Linked DNA regions of Homo sapiens: all the other regions are linked to region 2. The links are contacts of gene promoters, found by promoter capture Hi-C in blood cells and fetal thymus (Javierre and others, 2016). All regions are on one chromosome and are shown on one strand. Each heading gives the region's core, a stretch centred on a gene start or on the middle of the fragment in contact. The rest is flanking DNA. Distances are from core to core; before and after follow the strand shown. Region 1 overlaps GPC6 (glypican 6). Region 2 holds the start of GPC6 (glypican 6). Region 3 overlaps GPC6 (glypican 6).

Evidence for each region. Contacts are between HindIII fragments. The CHiCAGO score rates a contact against its expected background, and 5 or more counts as called.
Region 1: a fragment that was not itself captured here is called in contact with the fragment with the promoter of GPC6 in region 2 in 1 of 17 cell types (fetal thymus); the score reaches 6.0 in fetal thymus.
Region 3: a contact is called between a fragment that was not itself captured here and the fragment with the promoter of GPC6 in region 2, in 1 of 17 cell types (M2 macrophages). The highest score is 5.7, in M2 macrophages.

The regions. Positions count from the first base shown.
Region 1 is chr13:94,377,984-94,382,288 of GRCh38, forward strand. The region is part of intron 6 of GPC6 (glypican 6); the gene reads left to right. Among named protein-coding and RNA genes, the nearest start is that of DCT, 100 kb to the right of the region's middle. The HindIII fragment of the contact is 2,768 bases long and covers 1,031-3,798 here.
Region 2 is chr13:93,224,108-93,228,287 of GRCh38, forward strand. GPC6 (glypican 6) reads left to right here and starts at 2,700. Exons shown (of 9, transcript NM_005708.5): 1 at 2,700-3,509. The coding sequence starts at 3,350. RefSeq lists enhancers at 1-886, 3,293-4,135. The HindIII fragment of the contact is 13,324 bases long and covers 1-4,180 here.
Region 3 is chr13:94,355,572-94,359,380 of GRCh38, forward strand. The region is part of intron 6 of GPC6 (glypican 6); the gene reads left to right. Among named protein-coding and RNA genes, the nearest start is that of DCT, 120 kb to the right of the region's middle. The HindIII fragment of the contact is 8,212 bases long and covers 1-3,809 here.

The DNA of each region.
Region 1 (4,305 bases), core at 1,165-3,664, 1.2 Mb after region 2:
GGAATTGAACAATGAGAACACATGGACAAAGGAAGGGGAACATCACACTCTGGGGACTGTTGTGGGGTGGGGGGAGACGTGAGGGATAGCATTGGGAGATATACCTAATGCTAGATGACGAGTTAGTGGGTGCAGTGCACCAGCATGGCACATGTATACATATGTAACTAACCTGCACAATGTGCACATGTACCCTAAAACTTAAAGTATAATAATAAAATAATAATAATAATAATAATATCTCATCACTGGATGTGTCTGATTATTTATGGTGTTACTTAGTTTTTTCCTCTATTGCCAGTATTTCCTGTAAACTGATTTTTTTAAGTCAGAAACTTGATGGGATTCAGGTGAAATATTTGGAGCAAGATTAATTCTTAGGTGAATTTGTCACAGAAGAGTACTTAGATAGTTCTTTCTGGTCATTGGCTTTGCTATTCTGTTTTTAGCAATCATTCCACCTTGTCACCTTCCTCCCTCTTTTGTCTAATTTTACAGTACTGTAATGGTAGGTATGAGAAGGATGCCCTCTCTTCCTAATAGAGTCAAGTGTTCATGGTCCTTTTGACAGGTCTTAAACTAAGAGTGTTTGTCTCTACTGACATCAGAAGTTGCAATTATCAGAAATCAGAATCAGCTCCAGATAAATCCTAAAAGAGGGCTCATGTTTTTCCTATGGACCCCAACAGTATATGTTTGGATCAGTTTCCAGAGACATAACAGTAGTTGTTGTTTAACTTCCAGAATCTATCAATAGCATAGATGAAAAAAGTAATACTTAAATATTACTGGGATTACTAATATTACAGCATTACTAATACAATATTGGAGCGATCGTAAATACTGTTCACAAGTATTGGTAAGAGTTCATTTGTCCTAGAATAGCTCATCCAGGAATCAGAGAAAGGAAATTGTTCTAAATTTTGTATTTTATCCCAAGTCCTTGTTCCCATCTGGTGTGTTATTAATGAATTAGGGCTCACTGTCATTGTCAGTAATATATTTGTACTAAGAGTGTTTGTTAACATAAAGCTTAATTCACAGTTGTGTGCACTTAAGTTTCCAGGAAAAAAAACCAAAAAAACAAAAAAACAAAAACCTCAGGTCCGGAGCTACAGCAGAGCAGTTACATATATTATTCAGAAATATAAATAAATAAAATGAGAAAAACATTTCTAAATGATGTGCAAGTTGAAAGGCCTTCCTGATATTGAAAAATAAACTGCCATCATTCAGATATAAATGAATCAAAGGCATGTTCTTTTCCAGTGGCTAATAGTGTCCATTTTTTCAGCCGTCTGCCTCACCATCACCGTCTGCAGGTGAATTGGCCAGTGTTTCCGTGCAGAATGTTAAAACGGCATCTACATTTCTCACTGCTCCTTTGATGTTATCTCCTTCAACTGCACAATGAAAACGCACAGCTACTGAAATGCCAGAGGGAACACACTCTGATTATAAATGTGCTGGGGTAAACAATGAGAGAAAACCCACATCCCCATCATCGCGACGGGCTCCTCACTTAGCCAAATACAACCCCACAGTTTTCTCCCACCCCTCTTGGGACGATGAACACACAGTATTGTGACCCCAGCTAATTTGTGTTAACCATACAGTCTATGACCTTGTAATAGAATGGGACAATTCAATCCATTATCTTAACCAACATTTATTGAGCATGTACTGTGTGCTTAGACCTGTGTGACCAACTAATCCTGGTTTACCTGGGACGTTCCCATTTTAGTGCTGAAAACTCGTCACCCTGGAATCCCCTAAGCTGTGGCAAATAGGACTATTAGTCACTTGACCCATACTGGACACTGTGGATAAAGATAAATTACAACCCTATTTCTGCCAACAAAAAGCATGTTGTCTAAAAGAGAATCAGAAAAATAAGCCAATTATTAGAGTTTGGAGTGATCAGTAGTTAGAATCATCAAGAGGGCATAGCGCAGCGCAGAAAGCTGAATCTAAATCTAAGCTGGGGACCCAAGAACGCACCCCGAAGAAGACAACGTTTGAGAATAATTTAAAGAATGAGTAGTGCAACATCCACCATTAAATTCTGCACATACTGAAAGGAGACACCTGTGGGGCGGCATGCAACTTTGTTCTTTATCTGAGTCTCAAAATCTGTGTATCTGGTTTAGATTCCCATAACGTGGAGGTAGGATTGTAGTACAAAATCAGAAGAAAGAGAATGCTCATTCTTAGTTTATTTTATTATGGGACAGAATAAACCTGACAGTATTTCAGTCCTAAAGGTCGTGGTCATTTTCTGAACCAGATATAAATATAAAACATGTATTTCTTTCTCTGAGGATTGTTTTGAAAAGAGTAAGAATGAGTGGCCTATTGTGGGCACGCCTTTAATGGAGGTTAGGGCACCAAAGTGGACACTACGTAGAACAAATAAAATGTGAGAAATTGTTTTTCACATTTTCACATTTTACTTTGAAAAAAAAGTCAAACTTAACTGAAAATTGCATTTTTTGAAAAATTTTATACTCTTCATCTAGCTTTGCCGGATATTAAAAAGTTGCCACATTTACCTTTTCTCTTTTTCTTTATACATCTGTATATTTATTGTTATTCTTGATTATTACTGAGCTGTTGTAGAGCAAGTTGTGGAAATTATACCCCTTTCATTTTAAATCCTCTAGCGTGTGTCTCCCAAGAGTACAGTATTCTCCTGTGTTACCACAGTATGATTTTATGTCCAGGAAATTTAACACTACATAATACTATTATCTAATAGAGAGCCAGCATACAAATTTTGCCCACTATCACAATAATGTCTTTTATTGGCAATTATCCTTCTGACCTAGCATTTAGTCCAGAGCCCTCTGCTGCATTTGGCTATCATGTCTCTTATTCTTCATCTGGAAGGACTCTTCAGCTTTTTCTTGTCTTTTATGATGGACATTTTTGATGAGTAGAGGCCAGCTGGTTTTCAGAATGCCCCTGAGTTTCGGTTTGTCTGATATGTCCTCATGATTAGATTCAGATTATAAATTTGGGGCTGCCTAAGTGATGTGTCCATCTTGGGACATCACATCAGGAGGAACAAGTGACCAATTTGTCCCCTTGCTTCATCACTTGATGAAGGTGGCAGCCTGCCAAGTTTCCACACTGTAAAATTACTAGTTTTCCTTTTGTAATTAATAAATAATCTGTGTTACTAGGTACTTTGAGATTCTGTAAATATCCCATTCCCCATCAAATGTTGACTCAACATTTTTTTACGTCTGTATTCGTTTGCTAAGGCCGTCATAACAAAGTACCACAAACTGAGTTACTTAAAACAACAGACATTTACTATCCCACAGTTCTGGGGCTGGAAGTCTGAAATCAAGGTGTCGGCGGGGTTGGGTCCTTCTGAGGGCTAGGAGGAAAGGATCCCTTCTAGACCTCTCTCCTTCGCTTGTAAATGGGCATCTTCTTCCTGTGTCTCTTCATATTTTCTTTCCTCTGTGTGTGTCTGTGTGCTCAAATTTCCCCTTTTTATCAGCACATATCATATTGAGTGAGGGCCCACCCACATGACTTCACTTTAACTTCTTTAGCTCTGTCATGACCCTATCTCAAAATAAAGTCACATTCTGAGGTACCAAGGGTTAGGAATTTAACACGTTAAGGGGAGGAAAAGAATTCAATTCATAACAGATGCATTCCAGCCATCTCTGGACTTTCCCAATGTTCATTATGAAGCCAAAATGAAATTAAATTCCTCTTCCTACCCTTTCTGCAAGTGAAAAGTCAGTGTTCAGCCTGAAGACACTTAAGATGCTGGCACTAAGCTTTTCCTGGCCATCCATCCACAGGGCTGTGAATTTTACACTTACCCGTATTTAGAATGACTTCTCTTTCAGTTCTAGAGATTTTTAAGAGGGTTTGGTTTATTGCTTACCACCCATGTGTGTGCTCTAAGGGCCTGTCATTTGCACTAGAGCATAAGTACCAGCAGCTGAATTAGTGGCAATATTTATTTTTTGCAGAAACAAGGAGTCCATTGGGAAAAGTATTTATCTCTTGGTGCATTTGTTTTGGTACAGTTGTCTGACATGCAAGCAAATGAATTCTAGAGACTATACTTGGGGTGTTCACAATAGGGACTCTCAGCAGGAGAGGGACCCGAAGCCAGGCGTGATGCTTCGTAAGTTTTTAATTCAAAGGATTGAAGGACAGAAAAGATGGAAAACAAAAAGCCAATTACCTGAGAACTCTCGTCTAGAGGAGGACTGAGGGAGAGGAAAGGAGGCTTTCCCGGGCAATAAACCCTGCAGTGCAGTGTCTCTCTCTTAA
Region 2 (4,180 bases), core at 1,450-3,949:
CAGGATAGTCTCGATCTCCTGACCTCGTGATCTGCCCGCCTCGGCCTCCCAAAGTGCTGGGATTACAGGCGTGAGCCACCGCGCCCGGCCTTTTTTTTTTTTTTGAGACGGAGTTTCTTTCTTGTTGCCCAGTCTGGAGTGCAATGGCACGATCTCGCCTCACCGCAACCTCTGCCTCCCAGGTTCAAGTGATTCTCCTGCCTCAACCTCCCGAGGAGCTGAGATTACAGGCACGTGCCAGCACGCCCAGCTAATTTTGTATCTTCAGTAGAGACGGGGTTTCTCCATGTTGGTCAAGCTCGTCTCAAACTCCCGACCTCAGGTGATCTGCCTGCCTCGGCCTTCCAAAGTGCTGGGATTATAGGCATGAGCCACCGTGCCTGGCCTCGTTTGCTTCCTCTTGTATGGCATTTATCCATATTCTTTTTTCCTACTACACACAAGATGAATACTACAGCTAGGATTCCAGCCATTAGCTGACCTTTTTGTCTAAACCAGATGCCTGCTCCTCCATATGACCTCTCTCCTGTCTGGTCAGGCCTCTTCCAGGAACTTCCATAACATTCCATTCTCATTCCAATCCCTTGTCTAGGCTCCTGCTGTGGCTCTCAGTGTTAACTGGAATGTTTGACTTTGTCTCTTACACCACTGCAAACAGTGTGACATTACTCAACAAATGGACCAGGCAGGGTTAAGGTCACCAGTAAAGCAAGTTATCTAATTCTTTGGTCTGACTTGAGTTCACAAACCTACCCTAAACTATTTGACTCTCCTGATGGAATTAAACTAATCTATTTAGTCATTCGTCTCATGTAATATCTTTGCCACAAATCCTAAGATCATTTTATAAGTATAGGGACGGTGTGCAATAGTCTAGTGCTATAAAGTTGTATTGAGTGCTCATTCAATACTTAACAATTAGCTGATCTTCAAATAATTTAAAACCACATATACTATGCTTTTACCCATTCTTCCTTTACCTCCATTTAAAATAATGAATTATCTGCTATACTGAGTCAGGGTAAATTACAATGAGTCCCAGGATAAGGTGGTAGGACAGGAAGTGTGTGTTTTTACCCTCTTCCTCTGGAGTGCATAATGCTTTACTATGATACAAAGAGAAGTTTGAAGGAAGTCACGTTGTCAAATATGACAGAAGTAATAACTTGACTGCAATTCCTGAGCCTATCAACCTCACCGTTTGTCCACAAACATAACCAGAATATATTTTATCTTGATTTCCGACTTGAGGGAAAATAAGTTCAGTGATTTAAGATCTGCCAGTTAGCATAAATATTGTGAAAGCAAAAAACTGTGCTAAAATTTTAAGAGAAAAAAAGTTAAGTGTGTTGCGTTTTCAGAAAGATTTAGCTATGGAGTTTTTTTTTTTGTTTTGTTTTGTTTTTTTTTTTTTTGGTTTTGTTTTGTCTTGACCTATGAGTTTGAAGAAGACAAAGTGGCTCTGTAAATAAGTCGACTTCATTTTTAAAGCGTTTGGAAAGGTTAAATGAGGTTGAATCTTGAGAGTCTTTTTGGTGGTTAGGAGAGGGGGAATTTATTAAAGAGAGGAAGACAATGTACCTAATATGTTGTGATGATAATGACAAACTCAAAGATTTAAACTTCATGAGTCATTCTGGTCATTCATATCATCATCAGGAAAACATCTTCATGTGTAGCTTCATAGGTGAGCTCCACAAAACTGTGCATTACCTTGTAGTAGTTTGTGAATAATGTGCTGACCTATGACACATAGCCACGTAAGTGAATAAACACTATTATTATTATTATTTTGTCTTGGTTTTCATTAAACTATCTTAGTAGTTTCAGGAGCTCTGGGTTTCAACACACACTTCTGCCAGCTGACTTTAGTGCGTCCATTAGCATAACAAAGTCAATTAGGCAAACCTGAATTTTCACTTTTATCCCGTTCACAGAACATCAGTGTAAATGGAGACAGGAAGAAGAAATTGGATTGATTCTCCACTTGAGAATTATGTTAACTTGGAAGAAAATGTTAAGTCTACTATGTGAGGGCATCTAGTGAGAGGGAAGGAATCACCTCCCTTCCCCCATTATGTCCCTTTATGCACCTCTGACCCTTGTGCTCTCCTTTTCTTGTTGCTTCTGTGGTCTGGTTGTTAGCTTTCCCGATCCTCCACACATTAGAAACCTAAGCATAATGATTTCTGATCGAAGGCTATGAGATATTTGAAATAAAAAAAGGGGAAATTGTTGAGTCTAGAACCAAACCTTTAAAAATTAAGAACTACCAGTCTGTAATGTGTGCCTTTAGAAAAAAACAAAGTCAAACAGAAATTAGGCAACTAGTTAGAGCCGTGATTGTGCTCTGCCACCCATGAACTCCCGTCTATGACTATTTCCACTCTGGCTTTGTGTTTCAGTAGGTCAGGGACACATATTAAGAGCAACAATTGGAACTGCGTTATCCTTTACCTCCATAAAAATACAGCTTAATAACATGTTAATGACTTAAAATTACCTTGTCTTTCTAGATTGTTTATTGATGTCATTTCAGATCGGTATAAAGGATGTGAAGTGAATAAGAAAATAGGTACGTTTCTTTTTCTTTTTTTCCCCTTTCTACCGACTAGGAAGAGATCCAGTCCAGGTTTTGCCTTTGACTCGGCCTGTGAATTTCGGCTGTGCAATGTGTAGCACGTTTCTTTCTCCCCCCTCCTTTCTCCTTCCCTCTTGCCTCCAGTGACTGTCTCCAGGATTTCTCTCTTCCTATTTCAGGAGGACTCTCACAGGCTCCCACAGCCTGTGTTAAGCTGAGGTTTCCCCTAGATCTCGTATATCCCCAACACATACCTCCACGCACACACATCCCCAAGAACCTCGAGCTCACACCAACAGACACACGCGCGCATACACACTCGCTCTCGCTTGTCCATCTCCCTCCCGGGGGAGCCGGCGCGCGCTCCCACCTTTGCCGCACACTCCGGCGAGCCGAGCCCGCAGCGCTCCAGGATTCTGCGGCTCGGAACTCGGATTGCAGCTCTGAACCCCCATGGTGGTTTTTTAAACACTTCTTTTCCTTCTCTTCCTCGTTTTGATTGCACCGTTTCCATCTGGGGGCTAGAGGAGCAAGGCAGCAGCCTTCCCAGCCAGCCCTTGTTGGCTTGCCATCGTCCATCTGGCTTATAAAAGTTTGCTGAGCGCAGTCCAGAGGGCTGCGCTGCTCGTCCCCTCGGCTGGCAGAAGGGGGTGACGCTGGGCAGCGGCGAGGAGCGCGCCGCTGCCTCTGGCGGGCTTTCGGCTTGAGGGGCAAGGTGAAGAGCGCACCGGCCGTGGGGTTTACCGAGCTGGATTTGTATGTTGCACCATGCCTTCTTGGATCGGGGCTGTGATTCTTCCCCTCTTGGGGCTGCTGCTCTCCCTCCCCGCCGGGGCGGATGTGAAGGCTCGGAGCTGCGGAGAGGTCCGCCAGGCGTACGGTGCCAAGGGATTCAGCCTGGCGGACATCCCCTACCAGGAGATCGCAGGTAAGCGCGGGCGCGCTGCAGGGGCAGGCTGCAGCCCTCGGCTGCCGCACGTCCCACTGGCCGCCCGGCGTCCCCTTCCTTCCCCCTGTTGCTGAGTTGGTGCTCACTTTCTGCCACCGCTATGGGACTCCGCGTCTCCGTGTTGGGCGGCGGATGCTCCTGCGGCTTCTTCGGCGGGGGAAGGTGTGCGTCTCCGCCGCCTCATTGTGTGCACACGCGGGAGCACCCTGGCTCCCGCCTCCCGCTGCTCTCGCGCCCTTCTACCCCTTAGTTGATGGCTCAGGCCCGGCTGGCCAGGGAGCCCGGGTCACTCCGGGGCGGCTGCAAGGCGCAGACGGAGAGCCGAGCCGGGCGCTCACTCCGCGTTCTGGTTCGGGCAAACTTGGAAGAACTGCGACCGCAGTTTGCCCAGCGCCACAGTCTGAGTGGCGCCTTCTCCACTCCCGCCCTTGCGCCGGCAGGGGCGGTGGAGAGACGCGGAGGGCTCCCCCAGCCCCTCTCTCCCCTATCCGTCCTTCGGGCGACAGAGCGCCCGGCGCTCGGGCCGGGGGCGGGCAAGGCTGGGAGGGACCCTCGCCGGGGACCTGGCCTCTGGACGCCGGCGTTTCAAGGCTGGTTTGGGGACTTCACGGGCTGCCTGTTTCAGATGTGGGGCGGGCTTTCCCGTTAGG
Region 3 (3,809 bases), core at 1,079-3,578, 1.1 Mb after region 2:
AAATGAAATGATGAAATTGTATGCTATTAATATCAATCTAAATGTGTCTATGAAAAGAACAGAAATTGCTTCCCTACATTATCAGTTGCTACCTTCTCAGTGAGGCCTTCCATGAGCATCCACCTCCACACATGCTTCCAGTCCCCCCCTCCACTTTAGTTTTCACTTTAGCACATGCCATGTATATTTTTATTGTATAATTCTTTTTTTAACTTAATTTTAAGTTCTGGGATACATGCGCAGGACATGCAGGTTTGTTACATAGGTAAACGTGTGCCATAGTGGTTTGCTGCACCTATGAACCCATCACCTAGGTATTAAACCCCGCATGCATTAGCTATTTATCCTGATGCTCTCCCTCCCCCTGCCCCCACAACAGGCCCCAGTGTGTATTGTTCCCCTCCATGTGTCCATGTATTTTTATTGTTCAGCTCCCACTTATAAGTGAGAAAATGCTGTTTGGTTTTCTGTTCCTGTGTTAGCTCCATCCATGTCCCTGCAAAGGACATGTCCCTGCAGCTCCATCCATGTCCCTGCAAAGGACATGATCTTGTTCCTTTGTCTGGCTGCATAGTATTCCATGCTGTACATGTACCATATTTTCTTTATCCAGTCTATCCTTGATGGGCATTTAGGTTGATTCCATGTCTTTGCTATTGTAAATAGTGCTGTAATGAACATACGCGTGCATGTGTCTTTATAACCGGATGATTTATATTCCTTTGGGTGTATACCCAGTAATGGGATTGCTGAGTCAAATGGCATTTCTGGTTCTAGGTCTTTGAGGAATCACCACACTCTCTTCCACAATGCTATATATTTTACTGGTTTATTTCATTTGTTGTTGGAATCTTGTAATGCAAATGTAGGCTCCATAAAGGAAGGGGTTTTTGCCCTCTTTTGTTCACTACTTCATCCCTGGTACCTAGGAGAGTACCTGAAAAAGAGTAGATGTTTGATGAATGAACAAACAAACTCAGCTCGCTTCTCTAATTTACTTTATCTGCATGATCTGCCTGAAAGGATGAAGCAGCTGTGGATAGGCTAAGAGAAGAGCCATCACTCCTGGTGAAGGAAGTTACTTCTGGCAAGTAACATAAGCAAAGGCTTGAGCTGGCAGGGAGCACGTGGAAAGGGAAATAGGGCTCTGTGAGAAGTAGAGCCTAATTAAAATGAAAAATGTAGCTGGGCATGGTGGCATGCATCTGTAATCCAAGCTACTTGGAAGGTTGAGGCGGGAGGGTTGTTTGAGCCCGGGAGTTCAAAGCTGCAGTGAGCTAGGATTGCACCACTGGACTCTGGCCTGAACAACAGAGTGAGACCCTGTCTCAAAAAAAGAAAAGGTAAAAATGAAATAATGCATTTAAAATGGAAAATGTGTCATGGAGTTGCCAGTTAAGAATCCATGATTGATAGATGTGAACAAGACACCACTCGTCTGTCCCCTGTCATCAATCTGGACCATTGCCCACCCCACCTGGCTTTCCCAGCGCCATACCTGTGTATCCTTCTGGACCCCACCTGGGCTGTTCTAGCACCCTTCAATGATTCTCCAGAAAAAATACTAAACTGCTCACAGTAGACTATAAAACCCTGTAGGATCTCCTGGCCCACTTCTCTGGCCCCAACTCCTGCCTCTCCAACATATGCACTTTGCCTTTCAGTTGCACCAAACTAACTACTTTCCAAACCCTTAGTGGGTTTGGTCCACATGAGCCTTTCAACATGGGCTCCATCTGATTGGGAGCCCCAACACCAGCTCACTCTTCAAGATCAGCTCAGAGAGACAGAGAGACCCCTGTGGGAGCTTCTCCCTAGAGCCCCTACTTGGCAGACCCAGGACCCCTACTCTGTACCTCTGGACCATCTGATGCTCCGCGGGTAATACTTATCCATCAGAAGCTGCATGCATCGCCTGTAAGATACAGCGTGAACACACAATTCTGCGGCACTCTTGGCCAACTGATGGTACCCAGGCCTTGAGAATGCCTCCCTCGCTCCTTGAACCCTCCCTAGAAATTGATTGGTTTTCTCATTAAGTGGTCACAGCCCTAAGGTACCACCACCATGTGTCTATTTTCACTGGTCCTGAGTTAACCTGTTATGCCCTATCCCCTTTACTGTGGTGTAAGTGCCCTTACCTTTTCCCATTTGATCTCAGTTTAATTAACTTTGGGTCACTGGTTTCTGCTCTTGAAAATACATACTCTACACTCAGCTTTCATTCTTCTCAACTCAGTTCTTGTCAATGTTGACATCACGTTGTACTACTGTCTGTTTTTATGTCTATACCTCCACAGAAGAGAAAGCTCCTTGAAAGTAGAACCGATGTCTTTTCATCTTTGTAGCCCCAATGCCTAATGCGGTATCTTGCACAGAGAAAACCCTTAATGAATGTTTGTTGACTGAATGCATGAACACATGCAGCGATACAGCCATTGCCATTGGTCTTTAAGAGAAAGGACCATGGCACTTTGGGAAGCCGAGGAGGGTGAATTACCTGACATCAGGAGTTCGAGACCAGCCTGACCAGTATGGTGAAACCCCATCTCTACTAAAAATACAAAAATTAGCCTGGTGTGGTGGCATGCACCTGTAGTTCCAGCTACTCAGGAGGCTGAGACAGGAGAATCACTTGAACCCGGAAGCAGAGGTTGCAGTGAGCTGAGATAGTGCCACCGCACTCCAGCCTAGGCGACAGAGCAAGACTCCGTCAAAAAAAAAAAAAAAGAAAAAGGAAAAAAAGAAAAAGGACCATGAATTAAGTTATGGCAGCAGTACTACATATTCAAAAAACTAAGTAAAGAAAATAAAGACAGATTTTTTTTAATTACTGCAATCAGATTCATTGGTCATGAGAACCTGACCTATAGGCTTAGAAGAAGTGAAAAGATGGATATAAAAAGCTAGACTAAATCTGAAAATTAAAAGACCTTTCAGAGAAAGAAAACAAAGTTGAAGTCACAGGGTTGAGCTTGCCCTGGAGAGATCACACTGTCTACTCTTTAACCCCATGGGTCTGAGTTTTCAGATTTCCCGTGTATCAGGATGAGTTGGGGATACAAGTTAAGAGTGCGAATCTCCAGACTGCAGGTCTAGTACCTGTGTCTGTACTGAGAGCACATTGTGTGAACACCTTGGCATGGTGACCCCAGGACCACCTATGCCTTAACCATTTTTGATCAGGGAAAAGCTCTTTTCCTTGTAAAGATGACTACAGAGTTTCCATGATTTTCTAGGATACTCAGCATGTTTTTCCTGAAATCCTCTTTTTCATCATGTTTTAGGAAAGCCTGTTCTAATGGCTTTGTTTTCAGAAAAAAACTGTTTTTAAAATGTCAAGCGAAAGAGATTTCTAAGTGTCTCTTCTTGTTGTGGAGTCACCTTTTTGGACCAAAAAAAGTAAAATCAAGTTCTGGACAAAAGTTCTAGCTCCTCTGAAGTTTGTCCTTTCCTCTCGACCATATAAATAATGGAGAAGGGGAACTTACTGGTATATCTCATTTAGGCACTTGGATAAATAACACCCCACTTTCAGTTATCTTTGGAAAAAACATTGAGAAACCCTCTTACCTTTTTGAGGACAAAAGAAGCAAATTGAAAATGCACTAGGCCTTTTTTAAATATTTGTGATTTGGCTTGAAAAAGAAGGTCGGTTTTCCACATAGGAAATAATTTGAAGAAATAAAATGAAAACTATTTTCAAAAGACTGTTTAACTTTCCTTTAATTATACTAAAAAGAATAATAAAGAGCATGAAGCATATTGGAATTTGTCATTTATGGATCACCATGGCATAGTATAAAAAT